Linked DNA regions of Homo sapiens: regions 1 and 2 are each linked to region 3. Evidence: promoter capture Hi-C in 16 types of primary human blood cells and fetal thymus (Javierre and others, 2016). All regions are on one chromosome and are shown on one strand. Each heading gives the region's core, a stretch centred on a gene start or on the middle of the fragment in contact. The rest is flanking DNA. Distances are from core to core; before and after follow the strand shown.

Region 1 (2,700 bases), core at 194-2,693, 2.3 Mb before region 3:
ATTCACAAAATCCTGGGCTATAAGCTCTATGAGGGTGGAGACTATGATACTTTGCTCAATATTATGTATATAATTAACACGAGACAGTGTCTAGTCAACAGAGTAAGCATTCAGTATTTCTTGCTTAAAGGAACAACTGTTAAATGAGGGAGAAATGCTACAGAATGTTTGGTATAAATCTAAACTAGGAGAAAAATGTAGACACATAATTAGCCTACAAAAAATTCTGAAGATATAGACCTAAATATTAACAAGAAAAACACTGGGTAGAATTATTTTTTTCTTCTAATCTCTGGGTATTTTTCAATTTATCTCTATATTACCAAGTATTACTTATGAAGTTAAGAAATTTTTCCCTTTATTACCAGCCAATTCTGCTGTTTAAAATAAAATGAATCAGGTTACCATCCCAAATTACTATTCATCCCATACAAGAATATATTTCACTGTAAACATATACCACAAACTTCATTACAAAAACTTTAAAAATATTTCAGAGCTTACCAACTGAAAAACTGGCATTAAATTTTACATAATGATGAAAATATTCAGATGTGAATAAGCAAAAATGACTACTGTTTTAAGCAAAATTATAAGACATTACAGTAACACTTAAAATTCCAAGTTTCCAGTAAAATAAAGCTTTCATGTAACCCAAACCTATTTCTAAATTACCTTTTGTTTTTCTCTATAGTCTTCTCCTTCGAAGTTATAAACACTTGACTCTGTATCCATTGTAAAGTTTCTAAGTGAACTTTCGCCCATCTTGGAGAGCTTTTCATTCATCTCTGCAGTCTAGAGAACAAAACAATCAGCTTCTTAGATTCACAGCAAAGAAAGCATGAAAACTGCAGTCAAAATAAATTAACTTCACGTACACAAAAGCTTCTCTTTAAGGAAATAAAATTATTTATCATCAATGTAACAAATATTTCCTGTTTCTGGTCTAAAACATTCTATATTAAAAGCATTATTTAATCTACATCTCACCTTCTTTGCACCTCTTTCCAAAATACCATCGATATCTTCATCAGTGATCTCACTTTCCTTTGAAGCAAACACATGTGTTGCTCCATGTCTAATCATTTGAAGCATTTCATCTTTCCCAATTTTGTTCAGATTCTGATCCACAAGCCTCCCTGAAAAAAGATTGTGTTGTATAATGTTAACTGAACAGACTTTATTTTACTGGAAACTTGAAACTTTAAATGTAAGGTTTAATGCTTTATAATTTTATCTCAAATGTCAATCATTTCTGTTTACTGTTTATTCACATCTAATAATTTTGATTTTTGCACTAAATTTAATGCCAAATTTTCAGTTGGTAAGCTACAAAACATTCCTAAACCTTATGTATTATATAATGAAACCTGCTGTATACTGTGCCAACGAAATATAATCTTTTGTGAAAGCTGCATATGAAAAATTTTCAAAAACCTACAAGTTTCAACAGATGGAAGCATTATACACACAAGTTTCTGATGAGCAGAAAGGTGTTATTAACTAATACTCCCCAAATCAGCTTTTCTCCTTAGAAAAGTAAAGTAAAAAATCCTTCACCTAGGCCAAACTTTACACAGAACTGAAATATGTAACATCAGTTTCTTTTTAAAGAAAACTTCCAGAAGAACTGAAACTCCTAAAAACTTATTTTATTCGTTTATTTTTTTGAGATGGAGTCTTGCTCTGTTGCTTAGGCTGGAGTGCAATGACAGGACCATAGTCACTGCAGCCTTCAACTCCCTGCTCAAGCCATTCTCCTGTCTCAGCTTCCCAAGTAGCTAGGACTAAAGGCATGCACTACCACACCTGGTGAGAAAATGTATCTGGATCATCGAAGAAACTCACCATTAATAAATTAATAAATATTTTCAGTTGGCAGGAGTTTGGACAACCTTGTAATTTTTCAAAAATACAGGTATAAAAAAACAAACAAAAACCCAGAAAGACTTGTTTTCACCCTCCTCAAGGGTCACTCACATACACCTAAACAAAGCTTTGATTTTTATATGCCAACCAACTTGTAAGTAAGTGGAAAAAGATCCAAGTTTTCAACAACTTCTTTAAATACTTGTATCATGGTTTGGGACCCATAATAGGATATACAGCCAAACATCCATGACTTTGTAAGTGAGGAGATATCCACAAGGTATGTTTCCTTGGATTGGATGCTACCATTGCTACCAAAATGTTCTTATGCTTATACAAACTACTTCCAAGTTGGGCAGGAAGGTTCCGGAACCTTCAGATGTAAAGTGCTTGTGTACTCTCGTTTTTAATTATGTCCCTCAAATAAAAAACAGTAACACAAAGGTATGCACTTAAGGCTTGCTGTTTGACTAACATGTCTACAAACGGCACAAGAAAGCTATTAGCCTGAAGGTTTGCTCCAAAAATTGCCACAGTAAATATGAAGTAAAAAAACCTCAAGATTTCTAAATTAATTATGAATCAATTAAGGTCTTTTTTATCTTTAAAAAAAGTGTTTTGGACAGGCGTGGTGGCTCATACCTGTAATCCAGCACTTTGGGAGGCTGAGGTGGGTGGATCGCCTGAGGTCAGGAGTTCAAGACCAGCCTGGCCAACAAAGTGAAACCCTGTCTCTACTAAAAATACAAAAAAATTAGCCAGGTGTGGTGGCGGGCATCTGTAAATCCAGCTACTCAGGAGGCTGAGGCAGCAGAATTGCTTGAACCCAGG
Region 2 (2,700 bases), core at 73-2,572, 2.3 Mb before region 3:
TTACTTTGTTCCCAGATGCAAAGCCTGGAAGCATATCCAATTTACCCGCCTGGCAGCTTCCCCCATCTTTCCAGCCCCCTCAGTACTGTCAGCATCCCCTGCCCAACCCAAACCCATAAGTCTCGGCAGCGAGTGGTACTAATTTTTTTTTTTCTTAAGGCCAGAGGCCAAAAAGAGAAAAGTGCCGGACTGAGAGCCAACCAACTGCGCCTGGTTCTCTAATTCATTCCTACACTTATTCATCCCCCCTAAATTAGACGGGGGATCCGAGACAGCTGCTGCTGCCTTGGTTGCTTCCCTTCCAGTGGAATAGTGCCTGGGAGGGGCCTTCTCTCCCTTCACAGAAGCAGCTGCGCCCCGCTTATCCCCACTGCGCACTCGGCCATCCAGCTCTCGCCATTGTTTCTGCCCACAACAGATACCGCCCCTGCAAGGACCGGGAAGAAGAAAAGGAGGCCCAAGTCCTCGGACGCGCTGCTTTTAAATGCCTCCTTCACCCCGCCCGTGCATCCCGCTCCTAAGGGGTCATCTCCTCGCCCTTCCCCGAAGTTTGGTGGAAACTAAAAACCACATTCAGAGGTAGGAGAGGGAATTATGGGAGTCTAGTGGGAAAAAAACGATGGGTCCCCCGGGCCACGGTAACCAAGAACATCTGTTCACTGAGAGCGTTCAAATATTTGTCAGGATTCACGAAAGAGACAAATAATTTAAATGTGAGGAGCCAGAAATCCATTTTGCTTAGCTCGAATAGGGTAAGAACAAGGGAGCAAGAGTGAGAGCATCATTTCGTATCCACAGGGTGTGAAGCTGAGTCTGGTGCAGAGAGAGAAACCCGGCTCTGCGTCCGATCGCCACGATCCGGCGAGGGAGCCAGCTCCTCCTCCCCGCTGCACCCGCTCCCCATGCCGCAAGTCGCCCTCACCTCCATCTCGGCGTCTGCGGGACCAGCGCTGGCCGCAGACGCAACCGCCTGCGCCGCGACGCCTTCGGGGCCGCCTTTGTTGCTGCTGTTGCTCCCGCCGCTGGCGATCGAGGCTGCGGGCTTGGAAGGCGCGCTCTCGGGAGGCGGGGGTGGCGGAGGCTCGGCCGCGGACGACATGATGTTCCGTCTGCGTCACCCGCTGCTGCCAGAGGCCCGAGTCCGGCGGGGATGGACGGGGAGGCCTAGGCCTGGATGCTACGTCGCAATAAACTGGTGGAGGAGCGAGACTCCCACCCGAGCGCTCCCCTGCGCCGCGCCTCCGCGACGGGCCTGAGCCGGGCCCAGGAGCTGCACACTCCCAAACGTTCTGCTCTTCCGCGGGGCTCTAGGTTCCACCGGCGCTTACCTCACGGCGGGAATCACGTCGACGAGGGTGGGCGGGGCCAGACGGGTCACTGAGGTCAAGGAAGGCCGGCTGATTTAGAGAAGGGCGGAGGGTTGGGGGAAGGGAAAAGGAAAACGAAAGAGAGACTGAGGCTGGGAAAACGCTTCGCCGCCTCCTCCTCTTCCTCTGGAAGATAACATCTATCTCGCCAGCATCCAGGACGACGACCTACGCCACCGACTTTCAACACTCGCGAGATTCCTTATTGGCTCACTGACTGGGTCCTGAGCGCGCATGCGCATACTGCCCTCCTCACCCTTGGCCCGCCCTCTTCCAGATCTCTAGCCGGCTCGGGAGAGAAGAGTGGGCGGGACCTCCAGGGAGCGCTCGGAGGTGTAGGTTTGTGCGCCTGCTGCTTGGCAGGACGCGAGCTCAGTGTTTTAGGCTTTCGTAACGGCTCACGGTTCTCGCTGTGTCTTCTGTGCCTGACAGGGGTTGGCGGCACTACCGGAAAACTTGTCTGGGTTTTGCGCTGCCCATTCAAACTTGGAAGTCTTGTGTCTGGCCCCAAAACTTCTGCCGTATCCGCTTAGAGGCGTGACGCCACAGCCTTGACGACGTTATGGTTACCCCAAGTGAAGTCTCACGGTTTTTTGTTGTTAGAAAAAAAAAAAAAGTCCGTTAGTGTGATTTTTTTCTTTTTTCTTTTTTTTTTTTTTTGCCTTCTCATGTTAGCTGCGTCGGTTATTTCTAAATACCCTCCTTAGGCACAGAGTTAAATGATATTTCTTCTGAATTTATATGCCAAAGTTAAGCAAATAACGTGCACACTACCATGGAAGTGAGAAACACGAATAATCAATATATGGGGAAGATAGGTGGTGCGATGTAATCTTTTCCCCAAGCATCAAACATGAAAATTAAAACGTACATTCTCCTTAAGTGTTAACAAATATTCAGCACTGATTTTGTATACTGCCTTAGGCAGCCTTCAATGCAGCTTAAGGGCCTTGTGCATTCATCGCCTACAAAATTTAAATACATTGTAGTCTGTTTGATAACGAATCTGCATACTACAGTAGATTACCTGCCCAGTACAGGGTCTTTTTTATCTTTTTTTATTCCTCATATTCAGTATTCTCTAAATGTTTGTTGAGTAAAGGAGACACATTTTTCGAGAGTTGAGGTTTGAGCTAACTGGTTATGTTGAATTCCAAACAGAAGGGATCCCCTTTGAATATATAGCCTGCAAATTTTTTAACTAATGGAATGATAATTCTTAAATGGACATCTGGAAAAATGTCCCCACTCCACTAGAAATGCTAGTTCTTAGACTATAAGGAAATGTCTAAGGATATATGCAAAGATGAATACCTACAATGATGTTCATCAT
Region 3 (2,719 bases), core at 76-2,575:
TATGAAACGTTAAGCACATATTATTCCAAATGAAGCGGGTGATCCTTAACGCATTTATTGGCACTAACGATTCTAAAAATGTAAACGTCAAAAAAATTTACCCTAAAAGACAAACTAGTCTTCTTTTCCCACTAAGAAAAAAGTTTCTCCAATGATAAAGTATTCTGCACCTCATTAAAACAAATGAATCATGTATCATTAGCAAAAACAAAAAAATCATTAATAAGAGCATTATTTAGCCAGTTTATATCACTTTTTTGAGCTATATATTCAGATGACCTGACGCTGCCAACACCTTAAGTATAACAAGTTTAATTTTTCCTATGTAATATGTAAACAAAACATCTAACAGTCAACAAATAACACTATTTATTAACTACAAAGTCAAAACATTCTGAAGATATTTAAGGTATTAGTTGCTCTGACTTTAACAAATGCTCTTCCCTCTACACGCAGTGAGCATGTAATTTTAACGGGGTTCAAATTTACGTTTAAGAGTATGTTTAATTTTCATCATTTAGTTGAAATACAAGATTTTTCTAAACTGAAGTTTTCTGAACTGAATGCTCAATTAAAAAAAAAACAAAACAGGTGGTAAGCAGTACGGTAGCAACTGAAAAATAGCCAGATTTAATAGGTGGTTATTTCGGTAACGTAACGCCCAGACCACTAAGGCACCATTCCAATATGTAAAATGACAAAATCTAGAGGGCGTGCTGCCCTGGCCAAAGAACCTCAGAAAATAATCACGAGGTGATCATGCGGATTAACTTTCTGCGTCCTCAGAGATATCCTCTGAATCCTCTGATAAAGTTAAATCTCATTTTTTTTTCCCTCCAGTTTGTTCTGCACGCTCAAAAGAGTGAATCTTCTTCTCAGCCTTATACGGGTTCAAGCCCTTTTCCGGTAACACTCCAACTTCTTGCATGCACTGCGTGTGTCACCAAATGAGGAAACAGGCACGGGGCACTGCGGCTTTAGGAGTCCAGCCTGGAGCTGGAGGACCCAGTGGGGCGGAGGGGCGTCCAGGGGAGAAGCGGCGGAGGTGCCAGGCGGCTCGGGGACCCGCAACGGGGACCCGCAACCGTCACCCGCCCGCGGGACACCCTACCTCGTGCGCGCTCCGGGCAAACCTCGCTCACTTTCGCCGGGAGACCGGACTCACTCAGGGGGCCGAGGGACAGGGAATGGCGTGAGGCCCACCCGCGACAGCAGTAAATCCAACTCGTGGACCAGGACTCCGGGAAAGAAGGTACTAACAGCCAGGGAGGCTGACAGCCGATTCCGGACACTAGGAGACGGACCGGACGTCCTTTTACGACAGCAGCGCCTTACGGCTGACGTCATAGGACGGGAGCCGCCCACCTCTGTTCGCTCCGCCCCTTCCCCGCCCACTCCTGCGGGGGCCAATGCCCCATTCCTAAGCAGAGGATCTGCAGAAAAGGAAGGGAATGCGAGGGAAAATAGGGAAGCAGAAGGAGGGAAAGCAGGGGAAGGCCCCCTCAGTTTTACTTTTTTAGAAAAAGGAGAAATCTAAAAGGAAGAGGAAAATGAACTCACAGACTTGGTACTGGATCAATTGACTCAAACAGCAAATTCATGTTGAATTCTGTTGGAAACCTTTCCCCACCTCTACATCTTGCGTGCCTCACATCCCACCTTTTCTTGGTTGCTGCGCAAACTGTGCCTTCAGTTGCCTGATGAACTTCCGTACCAGCCTCCCCTGTCTCTTATTTCTGTTATGCCCTCTGGATTCCATTCCTTTGTGAACAAATCATCCCACATTCTCTACCTCTAATGTGTAATCTGCCTGCTTTTAACTGAAACCTGATGATCCTCCCCCTGCATCAGAATCTCCTTCCGATCAAGCACCTCCACCTTTGCATAGCCGACCAAGCTGGGTTTCCTAATCTCTTTCGGAGCTCTGCCGCACTTAGGATTCAGTACCAGGCCTATTCCTGTGCTTTTCCTGCCCTCCCCCTGCAGGAGATAAAAGCCTCTTTATTTGGACCAAAGAGGCCTTCTGGAATTTACTCTTAGATTTTGATAGCCAATTAACCATCTCAGCCTTTTGCTATTTTCAAAGAATCAATTTTACTTAGCAATAACAGTCAATGCCACTGTCATTAAGGTTACTATTTCCCTCATAGTTCTCAAATGCCTGATACATTTTACCTACTCGTATATAAATTAGAATACCACCCCAGTTACGTTAGAATACCACCCCAGTTTCATTACTGATGAAAGTTGTAACTATTGCACTGTTACCTTGTGCCGAGGTCTGTGTGTCCTACACCTACCACCGAGGGGGTCCTCATTGATAGTCACATGGCCTGTGATTCGAATCATAAATCCCATCTTAGCCTAACTTGAACCACTCCTGACACCAACTGTTTTAGGTTGGCTTCCCCAGGAAGCATACTCTGAGTCAGAGAAGAGTATAATGAGTATGTTAGGGAATGCTTTGGGGAACAACATCTGCAGGAGAAATGGAAGCAGGATTGAGCAGAGGGAAGAGTTGACCTGCAGTGACGTCTCAGTGAAGGCCTCGTTTTGAATCTGGGATATCCCTTCAGAGTTGTCTTGAGTTAGGGGAACTGGGCTGGACCTTTATACACCTATGACATTTAGTCACTGGATGAACGCTGCCAAAGGAGAAGAGTGCAACCTTGGGTTAAAGGACTCCTGAAGATGGCCAAGAGCTGGATTGTGTTGGCTT

What was found. Contacts are between HindIII fragments. The CHiCAGO score rates a contact against its expected background, and 5 or more counts as called.
Region 1: a contact is called between a fragment that was not itself captured here and the fragment with the promoter of ZNF330 in region 3, in 1 of 17 cell types (naive CD4 T cells). The highest score is 5.2, in naive CD4 T cells.
Region 2: the fragment with the promoter of SMARCA5 here is called in contact with the fragment with the promoter of ZNF330 in region 3 in 3 of 17 cell types (total CD4 T cells, monocytes and naive CD4 T cells); the score reaches 7.2 in total CD4 T cells.

What each region holds. Positions count from the first base shown.
Region 1 is chr4:143,541,948-143,544,647 of GRCh38, reverse strand. It overlaps SMARCA5 (SNF2 related chromatin remodeling ATPase 5), which reads right to left. Exons shown (of 24, transcript NM_003601.4): 15 at 991-1,139; 16 at 676-795. Among named protein-coding and RNA genes, the nearest start is that of SMARCA5-AS1, 28 kb to the right of the region's middle. The HindIII fragment of the contact is 1,111 bases long and covers 888-1,998 here.
Region 2 is chr4:143,512,324-143,515,023 of GRCh38, reverse strand. SMARCA5 (SNF2 related chromatin remodeling ATPase 5) reads right to left here and starts at 1,322. Exons shown (of 24, transcript NM_003601.4): 1 at 923-1,322. The coding sequence starts at 1,099. SMARCA5-AS1 (SMARCA5 antisense RNA 1) reads left to right here and starts at 187. Exons shown (of 2, transcript NR_104027.1): 1 at 187-579; 2 at 799-1,552. RefSeq lists enhancers at 702-821, 882-941, 1,232-1,601, 1,632-1,701, 1,732-1,821 and 1 more. The HindIII fragment of the contact is 18,533 bases long and covers 1-2,700 here.
Region 3 is chr4:141,219,501-141,222,219 of GRCh38, reverse strand. It overlaps ZNF330 (zinc finger protein 330), which reads right to left and starts at 1,325. Exons shown (of 10, transcript NM_014487.6): 1 at 1,112-1,325. RefSeq lists enhancers at 529-1,033, 1,034-1,540. The HindIII fragment of the contact is 10,650 bases long and covers 1-2,719 here.